Regions from separate parts of the Homo sapiens genome. Here regions 1 and 3 are each linked to region 2. The links are contacts of gene promoters, found by promoter capture Hi-C in blood cells and fetal thymus (Javierre and others, 2016). All regions are on one chromosome and are shown on one strand. Each heading gives the region's core, a stretch centred on a gene start or on the middle of the fragment in contact. The rest is flanking DNA. Distances are from core to core; before and after follow the strand shown. Region 1 overlaps VEZT (vezatin, adherens junctions transmembrane protein). Region 2 holds the start of CDK17 (cyclin dependent kinase 17). Region 3 holds the start of NR2C1 (nuclear receptor subfamily 2 group C member 1).

Region 1 (4,356 bases), core at 1,780-4,279, 1.2 Mb before region 2:
AAGTAGAACTAGTGGGTGAAAGAATATGAACATTTAAGACTTACGCAGAAAGGTTATACCAATTCCGGTTTCCATTAAGAATAAGAGAGTATTGGTTTCACCAAATCCTCAACAACAGCCTTAACAGTTTCCTTTAATCTTTGCTAATTTGATAGGCAAAAATAACATTCCATTGTTTTAATTTACATTTTATGCATTTATACATTTATTAGCTATTTTTATTTCTTTGAACATTTCTCTTCATATTTGTTGCTCATTTTCTTATTAGATGCTAGCTTTAAAAAAATTGACTTGCGTGAGTTCTTCATATATTACTAAGCCTTTGTCATACTTGCAGAAAAATTTCCAGTTTGCTGTTTGTTTGCTCTTTGATATACACAATTTTTATTGCAGTATAATTTACATAAGGACAGGGCACAGATCACAAGTGTGTGGATGGTTATATTTTCACATGTTGAGCACACCCATGTAACCAGCACCCAGATCAAGAAACGGGACAGATGGGGCATGGTGGCTCACACCTGTAATCTCAGCACTTTGGGAGGCTGAGGCAGATGGATCCCTTGAACCCAGGAGTTTGAGATTAGCCTGGACAACATGGTGAAACCCTATCTCTACAAAAAAGACAAAAATTATTTGGGCGTGGTGGCACATGCCTATAGTCCCAGCTACTCGGGAGGCTGAGGTGGGAGAATCACTTGAGCCTGGGTAGGTCAAGGCTGCAGTGAGCCATGATCGCACCGCTGTACTCCAGCCTGGATGACAGAGCCAGACTCTGCCCCAAAAAAATAAAAAATGAAAAAAGAAACAACATCACCAGCACACCAGAAGCTCCCTCCTGGTCCTTTCCATCACTACTCCCTACCCCAAAATGATCACTATTTAAACATAATAACCTAGATTAATTTTGTCTATTTTTATTGTTTAGACACTGTGCATTTCCATTTATATACTCTCTTATTTCTGACTTTTTTTTTTCCTCTCTGGCTTTATTTGTGAGATTCGTCCATATTGTTAACATGAGAATTTTTATTTTGGCATAGTATTCCATGTGAATATATGATCATTTTTAAATTCATTCTTCTATTAATGGTCATTGAGTAGTTCCCAGGTTTAAACTAGTGCTACTGTGAACCTTTTTGTATGTGTTTGGTTAAACATATTTCTGGTGGATATATATGTAGGAATGGAATTGCTGGGTCATAGCAAATACCTAGATATTTCTGTAGATATTGCCAAACTTTATTCCAAAGTGGTTGTACCAGTTTATTCTCCAGCCAGGAATGTATGAGAGGTCCCATTGCCCCACATCCTCATCAACCCTTGCTAATTTTAGTGTTTTTCTTTTTATGATTCTAGGGGCTATGTCCTGGTATCTCCTTGTGGTTTTAATTTGTATTTTCTTGATAAAGATGTTAAGATTTTTAATGTGTTTATTAGCCAATTGTATATCCATTTTGTGAAGCCACGTCAAATTTCTTGCATATTTTTCTATTGGGTTGTTTCTTTTTCTTGCTGATTTGAAGGAATTATTTACATACACTGGATACAAGTCCTTTGTTAGAGATGCAGTTGGCCCTCCTTAGCTGAGAGTTCCACATCTGCAGATTGGACCAACCGTGGCTCACGCCTATAATCCTAGCACTTTGGAAAGCTAAGCCAGGCAGATCACTTGAGGCTAGGAGTTTGAGACCAGCCTGGCCAACATGGCGAAACCCAGTCTCTACTAAAAAATACAAAAACTAGCTGGGCATGGTGGCATGCACCTGTAGTCCCAGCTACTCCAGAGGCTGAGGCATGAGAATCGCTTGAACCCAGGAGGCGGAGGTTGCTCTGGGTGACAGAGTAAGATTCCATCTCAAAAAAAAAAAATAAAGGAAATACTCTGGCCCAGTGAGGTGGCTCATGCCTGTAATCCCAGCACTTTGGGAGGCTAAGGTAGGAATATTGCTTGAAGCCAGGAGTTTAAGACCAGCCTGGTCAACATTAACAAAACCCTGCATATTAAAAAAAAAAAAGAAAAAAATTAACCAGGTGTGGTGATGCATGTCTGTAATGCCAGCTACTCCACAGCCTGAGGCAGAAGATTGCTTGAGCCCAGGAATTTGAGGCTGCAGTGAGCTACAATTCCAGCCTGGGTGACAGAGTGAGACCATATCTCTAAATAAATAAATAAATACTCAAAAATATTCAAAAAATAATACAAATAAAAAAACTATACAGGATAACAACTATTTACATAGTGTTCACATTGTATTAGGTATTACAAATAATCTAGAGATGATTTAAAATATGTGGGAGACTGTGTGTATGTTATATGCAAATACTATGCCATTTTATATAAGGGACTTGAGCATCCATGGACTGGGTATTTGCCCTAGTCCTGTGACCAATTCCCCATGAATAAAGAGACAACTGTATATACCTCATATATCTTACCTTGGGCTATATGTGGCCTCTGCACTCTTTTAATCGTGTCTTTCAATGAACAGAAGCTCCTTATTATAATCCAATTAAACCTTATTCTTTTGTGATTAGTGCTGTTAAAAAAATATTTGCCTACTCTAAGGTCACAAAGATATTTTCTTTAAAAGCTTTATTTGACATTTTCCCATTTAGATCTGTCATCCATCTGGTACTGATTTTTGTATGGTAACAAGTGAAGATCAACATTTTTTTTTCCCCGTATGGATGTCCAGTTGACCTGGCACCATTTACTGAACAGATCATTTTTTCCCCACTGAACTGTAGTGTTGCCTTTGTCATAAATCAGGGAATCTTTTATGTGTAGATCTCTTTCTGGACACTGTCTTCTTTGCCATTGATCATTTTGTCTATTCGTGTGTTAATACCACATTATTTTAATTACTATAATTTAAAAAATAGGTTTTAATATCTGATAGCATAAGACCCTTCAGCTGTATTTTTCTTCAGGATTGCCTTTGGCTATTCTTGGCCCATTATATTTCCATATAAATTTTAGAATCAGCCTGTCAGTTTTTGTAAAAAAATAAAAAATAAAAATAAAAAAACCCTACTGAGACTTTGATTGAAATTGCTTTGAAGCTATAAATTAATCTGGGGAAACTTAACATCTTTACAATCAATATTGAATCTTCCAATCCGTGAACATTTATTGCTTGCCTTCTAAATGAATCAAGCAACTTCTCATCTCGTTCTGTGCTCTAGGACTGATTTTACAAAATGAGAATTATCTGTTTCTTCAGAGTATAGCTAAATTGGCCTTTCCTGGGGAAAAGAGACTGAATGTTGTCTATCAGCTCAATTTCTTTTATGGTTATTGCTCAGGTACAATTTTCTATTTTGATAACTTTTTTATTCTGAAAGGCAGTGTAATATAGTTAAAGATATGGGCTCTGGAGCTGGATAACCTAAGAAATCCTAGGTCAGCTATTTATTAGTTATATTAGTTAATGTGACTTTGAGCAGGTTACTTAACTTGTCTAAGCTTCAGTTTTCTCCATATTAAATAAAAATAACAGTAACTATCTCGTAAGGTAGTTATGAGTACTAAATGATTTAATATAAGTGAATTACTTAGATGAGTACCTGACACATTGTAAACACTCAGTAAATGTTACCTTTTATTAAATTTTTCCAACAAATTGCTTTTTATCTAGGTTTTCAAAATTATTGATATATTCTTAGTAGTCTCTTTAGTTTCATTTATAGCACAAATTAGATCTGATTGTTGTTATGTTTTTCTTTTTGTTTTGCATAGATGTGCTGGAGTTTCAACTTACCAGATAGACTTTTCTTTTTTTTGAGACAGAGTTCCACTCTGTTAGCCTTGTCGCCCAGGCTGGAGTGCAATGGCAGGATCTTGGCTTGCTGCAACCTCTGCCTCCTGGGTTCAAGCAATTCTCCTGCCTCAGCCTCCCGAGTAGCTGGGATTACAGGCACCCATCACCATGCCCAGCTAATTTTTGTATTTCTAGTAGAGATGGGGTTTCACCATGTTGGCCAGGCTGGTCTTGAACTCCTGACCTCGGGTGATCCACCCACCTCGGCCTACCAAAGTGCTGGGATTACAGATGTGAGCCACCGTGCCTGGCCTCAGGTAGACTTTTCAAAAAACTAGTTGGTTTTGTTTGGTCAGTTCTATTGAATTTGTTTGTGGTTTTAAATTTTTTTAAAATTTCTACTTTTATCTATTTCCATTCATCTATTTGTGTTTATTTTGCTATTTTTGTTCTGTTTTTTTTAGCTTCTTGAGTTAAAAACCTAAATGCCCAAAATAACTTGTAAGGCTATAAATTTCCCTGAGTATTGCTTCAGTTGTATCACGAAAGTTTTGAAATGTAGTTTGTCTCATGGTTGTATAAGTTCCATTTT
Region 2 (4,313 bases), core at 1,283-3,782:
CAAACTGAAATCTCTTCCACAATGTTTGTATGTCAACCCTTTAACGGCAGTGAGCAGCAAGCTATGACTGTTCGTACAGTGATATCAACATTAATGTCTCTATATTAAACAGGCTTTGCTTTTATTTTCTTTCCATTTATACTTCAATAGTGTTTTATTTTCACTGTAAAAATAAATAATAACCTATATTTGCATAGTAATTTTACATAAGCTTAAATTCAAAGACTCCCGTTTTTTTTTAAGCCAACCATTCAAACTGTTAGTGCTTCTGGCCTATGAGATGGTTTACCAGATAAAGTAACATTCTTTATATTCCAATATTCTCTCTCATAACATAAAAAAGAATTTAAGGAATATCCCTTAGTCACATTTTCTTTTGTTCCAACCCACTGTTTATGGAAGCATGCAGATGTTAAGAGTTGCAAAAATTGAAATGACTTCATTAACAAAGCAACATCCCAACGTTTAATGTCAACTCCTCAGACTCATAAAAAAATGAAACAAAACCAATTATATTACCACTAGCAAATTTTTTCCCCTTAAAATCTAGTTTCGTCTTATTTCTAGTTTCAAGGCAAGCTTTGTCTACCCAAGGTATCAAAGGTCTTCAAATCTCATTCATTTTCTTCTGCCCAAGAGTTAAGAAAGTAAGTCTAAAACAGAACAAGCCAGATTTGTTGCTGTGATCTTCTCACACGAACGCCTTTTAAAAGAAATCTTTCAACAAAGACTCAAAAAAGAAACAGCAAAGTTTGGGGAAAGAATTGTCTGTCTTTAGGTCAAGCATTTCCTGATAAGTGACTGAAGGTCTGGCTGCCAGGAATACACTTTGCTGACCCTAGGAATGGCCAAGTCTCAAAACAAAATTTGCCTCTTCTGTATCTTGAAAGTGACCTGTTAGGACCTGATGTCAATTTGACGAAGAGGTGATAGAACATGACCAACGAGGTGTCTTTGGTGGACATATTCATGTAAAGGAGGCGAGAGCCACAGATTTCAGCTAAACGCTTTTTGCCACTTTTGCAAAAGAAAAGCTAATTGTTAACGGCCATGTGACATTATAGATCCCAGAAAAGGAAAGGGTGGGAGGAAGAGAGAGAAGTTCAAGGCAGTTCAGGGTCAGAACAAGCTCAGACATCCTGTCATTAACAAATGTTCCCCAAGCTGAAAGCAAAATACTGCTTACCCGAAAAGGAGTGGGTGAAAAGTAGGGGGAGAACGAGGGAAAAACCACAGGAGAGTCAATGTGGCAGTGTGGGGGTGACAGGAGGGAGGGAATCTGGAGCTATCCAGCTGAGTTGGGGAGCAAAAGCATCGGGCATAGCATCGGGCACAAAAATGCTGAGAAAAGCAACTGCGACGGAGACAGCACTAGGCACCCTCCTCCCCCCATTTTCCCCTCCCCATCGGTTTGCTGGGTTTCCCACCTTCCCTCTACCTCCGCTCTTGACCAACACTCCGGGGTGTGACCCGCCAGCAGGAGGCTGCCCTGATCTTTGTCTCTACCCGCTCCCACGCGCGGGCTCCTCCTCCTCCTCCGCGCTCCCCACCCGCGCACAGCGCCAGCGTCTCCAAGGAGCTGCAGGCGCCGCGACCGCCGCCTCCTCGCCCACCTCCCGCGGACCCGCGCCCCTTCCTTCCCCTCCCGGGCAGCGTCGCCTGCGCCTCCAGCTCCACCCCCGCCGAGGGGACCTTTGTGTCTCGGGGGACTTTCTGCCTCTTTCCCCTCCTCCGCCTCGCGAGGAGACCGGCCTCCCCCGCAGACCAAAGCGGCAGCGAGCACCGGAGGCGGCGGCGTCTATATCTGTCGGCGCCTCCTGGGAAGCAGCTCGCAGACACTCACACCCCACCCGAGCCCCGGAAATCCCCGGGCGACCCAAGGTCCTCGCTGGACCGGAGAGGTGACAGGCGCACGCTAGCCCCCCGCGCCGCGCCTCCTCGCTCAACTTCCCGACCGGGCCTGAGCCACCCGCGCCCCCAGTAGCCCCCGCCCCCGCCTCTGTCCCACGCAGCCTCCCGGCCCCGCGGCCGACCCGACACCAGGGGAAAGCGCGGCGCGGACGCCAGCCGCCAACTCACCAGCAAGAGCGGGGACCGCGGGTCCCGAGGCGAGGCGAAGAGAGGCGCGGGGGGAAGCTGCTCCGCGGACGCCCGCGGCGACCGGATGCAAGTCCGGGTCTCAGCGGCCGGCAGACGTGAGGCGCTTCCGAGCGCAGGCCTCCGCCGCCACAGCCGCCTTCCGGCTCTCGCCGCGGGTCCGGAGCCTCGGGAGGGGCCGCGGGTGTCTCACGCGTTGCCAAGTCCCTCGGTCAACATGGCTCCCGCGCCGACGAGCCGCGCGGACGGCCCACTAATCCCCTCGGAGCAGCCGGGCGCGAGCGCGGCGGGCGCCGACGGCGGGCTGAGACTGTCTGGCCGGGCGCTGGCTCCTTCTCCGCGGCTCTGCGGCGGCCCGCGGGGAGCTCAGGAGACTGCGGGCGGCCGCGTTCGCTCCTTGCGTGTGCGTCGCTTTCACACTCGGCGGCTGCGGATTGACGCCTCCGCCTGTTCCCCGGAGGAGAGCGAGTGCAAGAGAAAAAACACTTTTATTGAAACGATCCAACCAGCGGCGGCGGAGAAAAGCGACCGGCCGCGGGAGCTTACCCCACCCCCGCCTGAGCGGCTCGCCGGGGGCAGCGCGACCCCTGCCGGCGGCGGCGGAGGCGGGGGCGGGGCCGGCGGCCGGGGGCGGGGCCTGCAGGGCGGGGCGGGTGTCCCCGGGAAACTGCCCGCTCCGAAATGCGGGCGTCGGGGGAGCGGCGGAGGGGGCCAGGGGACCCCACCGGAATGAGTGCCTGTCCGCAGCGACTGGGGGAGAAATTATGTGAATAATTCAGCCCCTCCAACATCCCCCTGCCCCTCAACTTCCCGCTACCAAACCAAAACTCGTGCTTCAGTTATACAAGTAATTACTGTACAAGGTGTCCATGCCACAGTTCTCCACTGACTTTCTAGAGAGTCCATGTCAAAGGACCCACACTGAAAGATGTTGATGGCTGCAACTTTTCTCCTTTGTTGTGTGTGGGTACGTGGGTACTAGTGCCGCAGTCTCTCACACACACGGCATCTATTCATTTAAACTACAGTACAGTGTTTTGTATATATTATCATGTGCCCGGCAATATGCTGAGTCCTCTAAGGACGGAGAGTCTAGCTGGGATGAAAGATGATCAATAACTATCATAAAAATCTGAACGTTATGAGCGGAGAAATACAAGGTGCTATGAAAACAGAAAGGACTACTGTTGCACGGGTTAGGTTTTGTTTTCTTGGGGGAGGCGGGCCGCGAGAGGTTGGCCCAGTTTCTGCAACTGTTTTTACTTTCTCCTTTCCCAGAGGCTAAAAGCTAGTTCAGGAATGAACAGCAGAGTGGCAGTGAAGACAAACTAAAGTAATACTGACCCACTTTTTTCCACTAATAAGGATAAAAGCATAAAGTTAAAACAAACTTAAACCCCTAGAGGGAGATAATGAGAGGATTGAAAGAAGAGAGTAGGGACCGGATGTAGACAACATAAACAAGAAAAAAAAACCCACATAAAAGTCCTGTGAAGTGAGATAAATTTTTTTTCCCATGTTAACACCCGGAAGTAGAAGCTGCTTTGAAGTTTCAAATCACATTATGTGCTAAGAACTTCGGGGAATTATCTTTTTGGATTTAGGGATGAATCCTTTCCCCCTTAAAAATGCTGCATGCTGACATCTTTCTCTTATTTTGTTTGGCAAAGTTAAATGCATCTACAGTTATATCCAACGATCGTACGTGTCAATCAGGCTTTTCCCATGCCTCTAAAATTACCAGGACCCGTAAATTAGCAACAATTATGCTCTACGCGTATTTAACACTTGTTTACCAACCAAGAATGCAAATATACATAACAAGCTTTCCGTTAGAACAAGTGCGCTTTGTTTAAAAGCACTGTTAATGAGGCTTTTTAGATTTGTCCAAGTCAAACTTGGAACTTTATAATATAGCAAGATGTAGCATCATTTTCAGAGTTCTTTTTAAGTTAAAGAGAAACACTGATATTTATACAAGGCCTATTTATATGAAAGGATTTTCATATACTTGCCTCATCTAAATTAGTACTTTAGTAAATATCAAAAAATCACCAAAAAAGGGAGTCTATGAAATGGCATTCTGAGTTTCAGCATTAATACTTATACCTTCATATCATTAGATTAACATTACTCCATGAGAAATAAAAAGATTATTCTGTCTCATCCAAAGCACCCTCTCCTCTTTCTACATCTTTCATTAGCATAACAAAGAA
Region 3 (4,717 bases), core at 72-2,571, 1.3 Mb before region 2:
CCTGTAATTCCAGCTACTCAACAGGCTGAGGCAGGAGGATAGCTTGAGGCCAGAGATCTGTCTGGATAACAAAATGAGGCCCCCCACCATTTCTATAAAACAAAACAAAAAAACCTTTCCTAGAAGAAACTAACATGCCCCTTGAAAAACTAAGATTAGCAACATTTCATAAAACCCACTTTTTTTTTTTTTTTTGAGACGGAGTTTCGCTCTTCTTGCCCAGGCTGGAGTGCAATGGCGCGATCTCAGCTCACTGCAACCTCCGCCTCCCGGGTTCAAGCAATTCTCCTGCCTCGGCCTCCGGAGTTGCTGGGATTACAGGTGTGCGCCACCACGCCCGACTAATTTTGTATTTTTAGTAGAAACGGGGTTTCTCCATGTTGGTCAGGCTGGTCTCGAACTCCCGACTTCAGATGATCCGCCCACCTCAGCCTCCCAAAGTGCTGGGATTACAGGTGTGAGCCACCGCGCCCAGCCGCGACCCACTTTTAATGATAGAAATACACATCGCTTTTTCAGATATACTAACTGGACTTAAAGCAAAGTTTAAAAACAATCATCGGCCGGGCGCGGTGGCTCACGCCTGTAATCCCAGTACTTTGGGAGGCCGAGGCGGGTGGATCAGAGGCGGGTACATCACGAGGTCAGAGTATCAAGACCATCCTGGCCAACATAGTGAAACCCCACCTCTACTAAAAATACAAAAAACAAAAACAAAAACAAAAACAAAAAAACTAGCTGGGTGTGGTGGCTCGTGTCTGTAATCCCAGCTACTCGGGAGGCTGAGACAGGAGAATCGCTTGAACCTGGAGGCGGAGGTTGCAGTGAGCCGAGATCGCGCCACCGCACTCCAGCTTGGCGACAGTGAGACTCCCTCTCCCTCTCAAAAAAAAAAAAAAAAAAAGAAAAAAAAATCGAGTATCACCAACCACACAGCAGAAATGGTTCAAAAAAGCTCAAAATCGAAGGTCCATTTACAAATTCTAGCGGTACTAAACCCTAAAGGCCGTAATTTTAGGTCTTTCTGCTTTTGCTTTCCGGTTACTTTTTTAAAGGCTGACCTACTTACTGAAGATTATGGGACAACCTGGCAACATTCGTACTGCACAAAAATGGTATCTGCCCGAGTTGGAAGAATTATTTCTTAACAAAAGAGCTATCTATCGGAAGCTTGGACATGCCCCCTGCAGTGAGAACCCTGGGGCCGTTCCATTTCTTCTGAAAAGATCCAGGCCCACAGGCAGCGACGACCCTGGCCAGATTTGCCGTGAGAGAAAAGTGAAAGTGGGGGGAGTCATTCTGTCCGTCCCGTGAAAGCACGGGAGTTAGTGACGGGATGCAGGCCGGGACTTGCGGCCACTAGCCGAGGGTCGGCCTCTCCCACGTCTCACTCGTGCCGGCGTTAGCCGTGCGCCCTGGAAGCCCCGGCGCTGCGCGCGGCTCTCCCGGGCGGGGAAAGCTGCAGCGCCGCGGAAGCTTTCCCTGCAGGTTAAAGGTCAGAGGCGCTGCGGTAAGCGCAGCTGGAAAGGGGGTTGTGTGCTCCAAGCCGCTCGCCGTCCGGCCCCGCGTCCCGCCGCCCCTGTCGCCCCCGCCTCTCCCGGGGCCCCGCGCATTTGGCGCCGCAGCTCCGCGCTCCCAGCCGAAGTCGAGCAGCCCCAAGCGGCGCTCCCAAACTGAACGGCTCCGCTGGCCGCAGGACGCCGGCCGGGGGATGCGCTGGGACCGCGTCCGTTGGCGGTTGGGGTGAAGGGCACCCCCTGGCCCCCGCCCCCGACGCGGTCGCTGGTGTCCCCACCCAGCGTTTCTTACCGGCGCTTTTGCGCCCTGCTGACTCCGGCGTCGGGCGCCGACGCGACAGTCCCGCGGCTGCCACTCGTGGATTGGGGGGCGCTCCGGGAAGAGAGGTTGAAGAAAGCCGACGGGATGTGGGATCGAGATTCACGGCGGAGAGAGCTTTCTGTGTTTGGGTATTTCTGGGGGGTCAGAGTTCGTGACCTCTTTCTCGGCTCGGCGGCGCGCTATCCCGCCAGCGCCTGCGCATTAGCAACGGGGAGAAGCGGCGAGAGGAGGTCGTGACGTTCCCAGGGTGGGGTGGAGGGATCGGAGGGCCGAGCAGCGGCTCTGTGAGTCCACTGCCCCCTTTTGGCTTGGAGGCAGAGTGCCCCGCCAGAGCTACGCGTTCCCAGCCAGGTAATTTTTGAAGCCACGTGCAAAGGTTTAAGCATCGTTTGCCAAAGGTGGGCATTAGGGGAGGTTTTGAGTCAACGTTTTAGATTTGAGTAATAAATAACCCTCTGGGTCTTAGGCATATCTGTTTCTAATTTCTGGAAAACTGGGCTCTGGGGTAGAGTCCAATCATATTTAAACTTTTTTTTTTTTGTATTACACTTTAAGTTCTAGAGTACATGTACACAACGTGCAGGTTCGTTACATATGTATACATGTGCCATGTTGGTGTGCTGCACCCATTAACTCGTCATTTACATTAGTAAGCTTTATATATAATGACAAGCTGAGGCCGACTCATGCAAATGGTAAGGCAAAGTTTCACTTATAAACTGTTGTGAGTAAAGAGACATAATGGCTAAACAGGGCAAGAATATAATCACTAGAGACTGGGCACGGTAGCTCACGCCTGTAATCCCAGCAAGTTGGGAGGCCGAGGCGGACGGATCACTTGAGCCCGGTTGTTTGAGGCCAGCCTGGCCAACATGGCGAAAACCCGTCTCTACAAAAAAATTAGCCAGTCCTGGTGGCGCGTGCCTGTCGTCCCAATTACTTGGAGGCTGAGGTGGGAGGATCACCTGAGTCAAGACGGCAGTGAGCCAAGATCACACCACCGCACTCCAGCCTGGGTGACACAATGAGTCTTTCTCTCTCTCTCTATATATACACACACACATATATATGTATATTCCACATCCTCTCTATAATATATATATTATTATATATTGAGGATTATCCTCAATGGCCGTTTTTTGTCTGTTTTGCTCAGTGATGTATTACCAAGCACATAGGACAATGCCTGCTATTCAATAATGATGTATGAAATGAAAGCCAGGCAAGTGGCTGCTGGGAGGCCAAGGAAAGATCACTTGGGGCCAGCAGTTGGAGACCGGCTTGGGCAAGATAACAAAACCCTGCCTCCACAAAAAAAATTTTTCAAATTGTGAAATGAAGAGACATTGGTGGAACATCGCATTCTGACAGTGGCCACCTGTAGTGGCAAGGTGTGGCAGGAATAACTGCCCTGTGTGCAAAGTACTCTGCGCTTTAGATTTTGAAGCATTCTTGAAATTTCTAGTTTTTTTTTAAATCTCCTTTGTTTTGTCATGAAATTTCTATTTTATCTAGCTTAGGTCGGCACTGTAGGAAAGCAGCCACAAACTCAGGGCAGAAATCCAAGGAAGGAAAAACAAACGTTTGCTGGGAATGAGAACATCTCTGTTATTTCTCTCTGGAACTAGGCAGACGGACAGAGATCAAGGCATGAAACAATCCCTAACAAGTAAAAATATGCTTTATCCCTCATTAAAAATCCACCTCTGCTGAGCACAGTGGCTTCTGCCCCCAGAGCCTTGGGAGGCTGAGGTAGGAGGCTTGCTTGATGCCAGGAGTTTGAGACCAGCCTGGGCAACATAGTGAGACTCCATCTCTTAAAAAAAAAAGAAAAAAAAAAGGCATGGTGGTGCAGGCCTGTATTCCTAGTTACTGAGGAGGCTGAGGTGGGAGGATTGCTTAAGCCCAGGAGTCTGGTCCAGTGTTGGCACCATTGCATTCCAGCCTGGGCGAGAGTGAAACTTTTTTTTTTTTCCAACCTCTACCTTTTAGCATTATTTGTTGTGTATTTGGTTTGGTTTTAAGGGAGACCCCTGCCAATACCATAAGCTGGTCCCAAAGGTGAAAATTATGAAAGTATAGTCACGTCAGGGATATGTTCTGAGAAATGAGTCCTTAGGCAATTTCATTTTACTCTCATCATAGAGCGTACTTATACAAACCTAGATGGTCTAGCCTAGACACACCTAGGCTGTATGTTGTAGTCTGTTGCTCTTAAGTCACAAACCTAGGACAAACCCGTACAGCATGTTACTGAATACTGTAGGCAGTTGTAACATAATGGTAGGTATTTGTGTATCTAAATATATATAAACATAGAAAAAGTAAACTAAGTCCTTTTAAAAAAAAAGTGCAGTAAAAATAGGGGATTATAATCTTATGCAACCATTATTGTATATGTGGTCTGTCCTTGACTGAAATATTGTTATGCAGTGCATGACTGCACTATAGGCCTAATGGATACAGGCAATCTGAGACCTCTTCACTATTCTTGGTGGAGAATATGTATGCCTATAGTGATGCTTGTGGTTACCCCTTATCACCCAATTAATTCACTTAAGTCACAATAAGTTGACTTGTTAAAACTTGGAAGTAGAAGCCATTTTAGGAACATCATTTGTAGGTGAAGAAGCGTTTCCATTAATTATGCTTCAGGAAAAGAGGTAAATGAAGTTTATTTATTTTTGAGACAGAGTCTCACTCTGTTGCCCAGGCTGGAGTGCAGTGGCTTGATCTCAGCTCACTGCAACCTCCGCCACCTGGGTTCAAGAGGTTCTTGTGCCTCAGCCTCCCGAGTAGCTGGGATTACAGGCGCACACCACAATGTCTGGCTAAGCTTTTTGTATTTTTAGTAGAGACAGGGTTTCACCATGTTGGC

What was found. Contacts are between HindIII fragments. The CHiCAGO score rates a contact against its expected background, and 5 or more counts as called.
Region 1: a fragment that was not itself captured here is called in contact with the fragment with the promoter of CDK17 in region 2 in 1 of 17 cell types (fetal thymus); the score reaches 5.4 in fetal thymus.
Region 3: a contact is called between a fragment that was not itself captured here and the fragment with the promoter of CDK17 in region 2, in 1 of 17 cell types (fetal thymus). The highest score is 8.1, in fetal thymus.

The regions. Positions count from the first base shown.
Region 1 is chr12:95,219,674-95,224,029 of GRCh38, forward strand. All of the region lies in intron 1 of VEZT (vezatin, adherens junctions transmembrane protein), which reads left to right. Among named protein-coding and RNA genes, the nearest start is that of VEZT, 4.0 kb to the left of the region's middle. The HindIII fragment of the contact is 875 bases long and covers 2,593-3,467 here.
Region 2 is chr12:96,397,907-96,402,219 of GRCh38, forward strand. It overlaps CDK17 (cyclin dependent kinase 17), which reads right to left and starts at 2,533. Exons shown (of 17, transcript NM_002595.5): 1 at 2,080-2,533. RefSeq lists silencers at 1,937-2,096, 2,277-2,456, 2,547-2,876 and an enhancer at 3,297-3,516. The HindIII fragment of the contact is 3,343 bases long and covers 578-3,920 here.
Region 3 is chr12:95,071,571-95,076,287 of GRCh38, forward strand. NR2C1 (nuclear receptor subfamily 2 group C member 1) reads right to left here and starts at 2,048. Exons shown (of 14, transcript NM_003297.4): 1 at 1,810-2,048. RefSeq lists a silencer at 1,466-1,745 and enhancers at 1,635-2,135, 1,826-2,145. The HindIII fragment of the contact is 306 bases long and covers 1,169-1,474 here.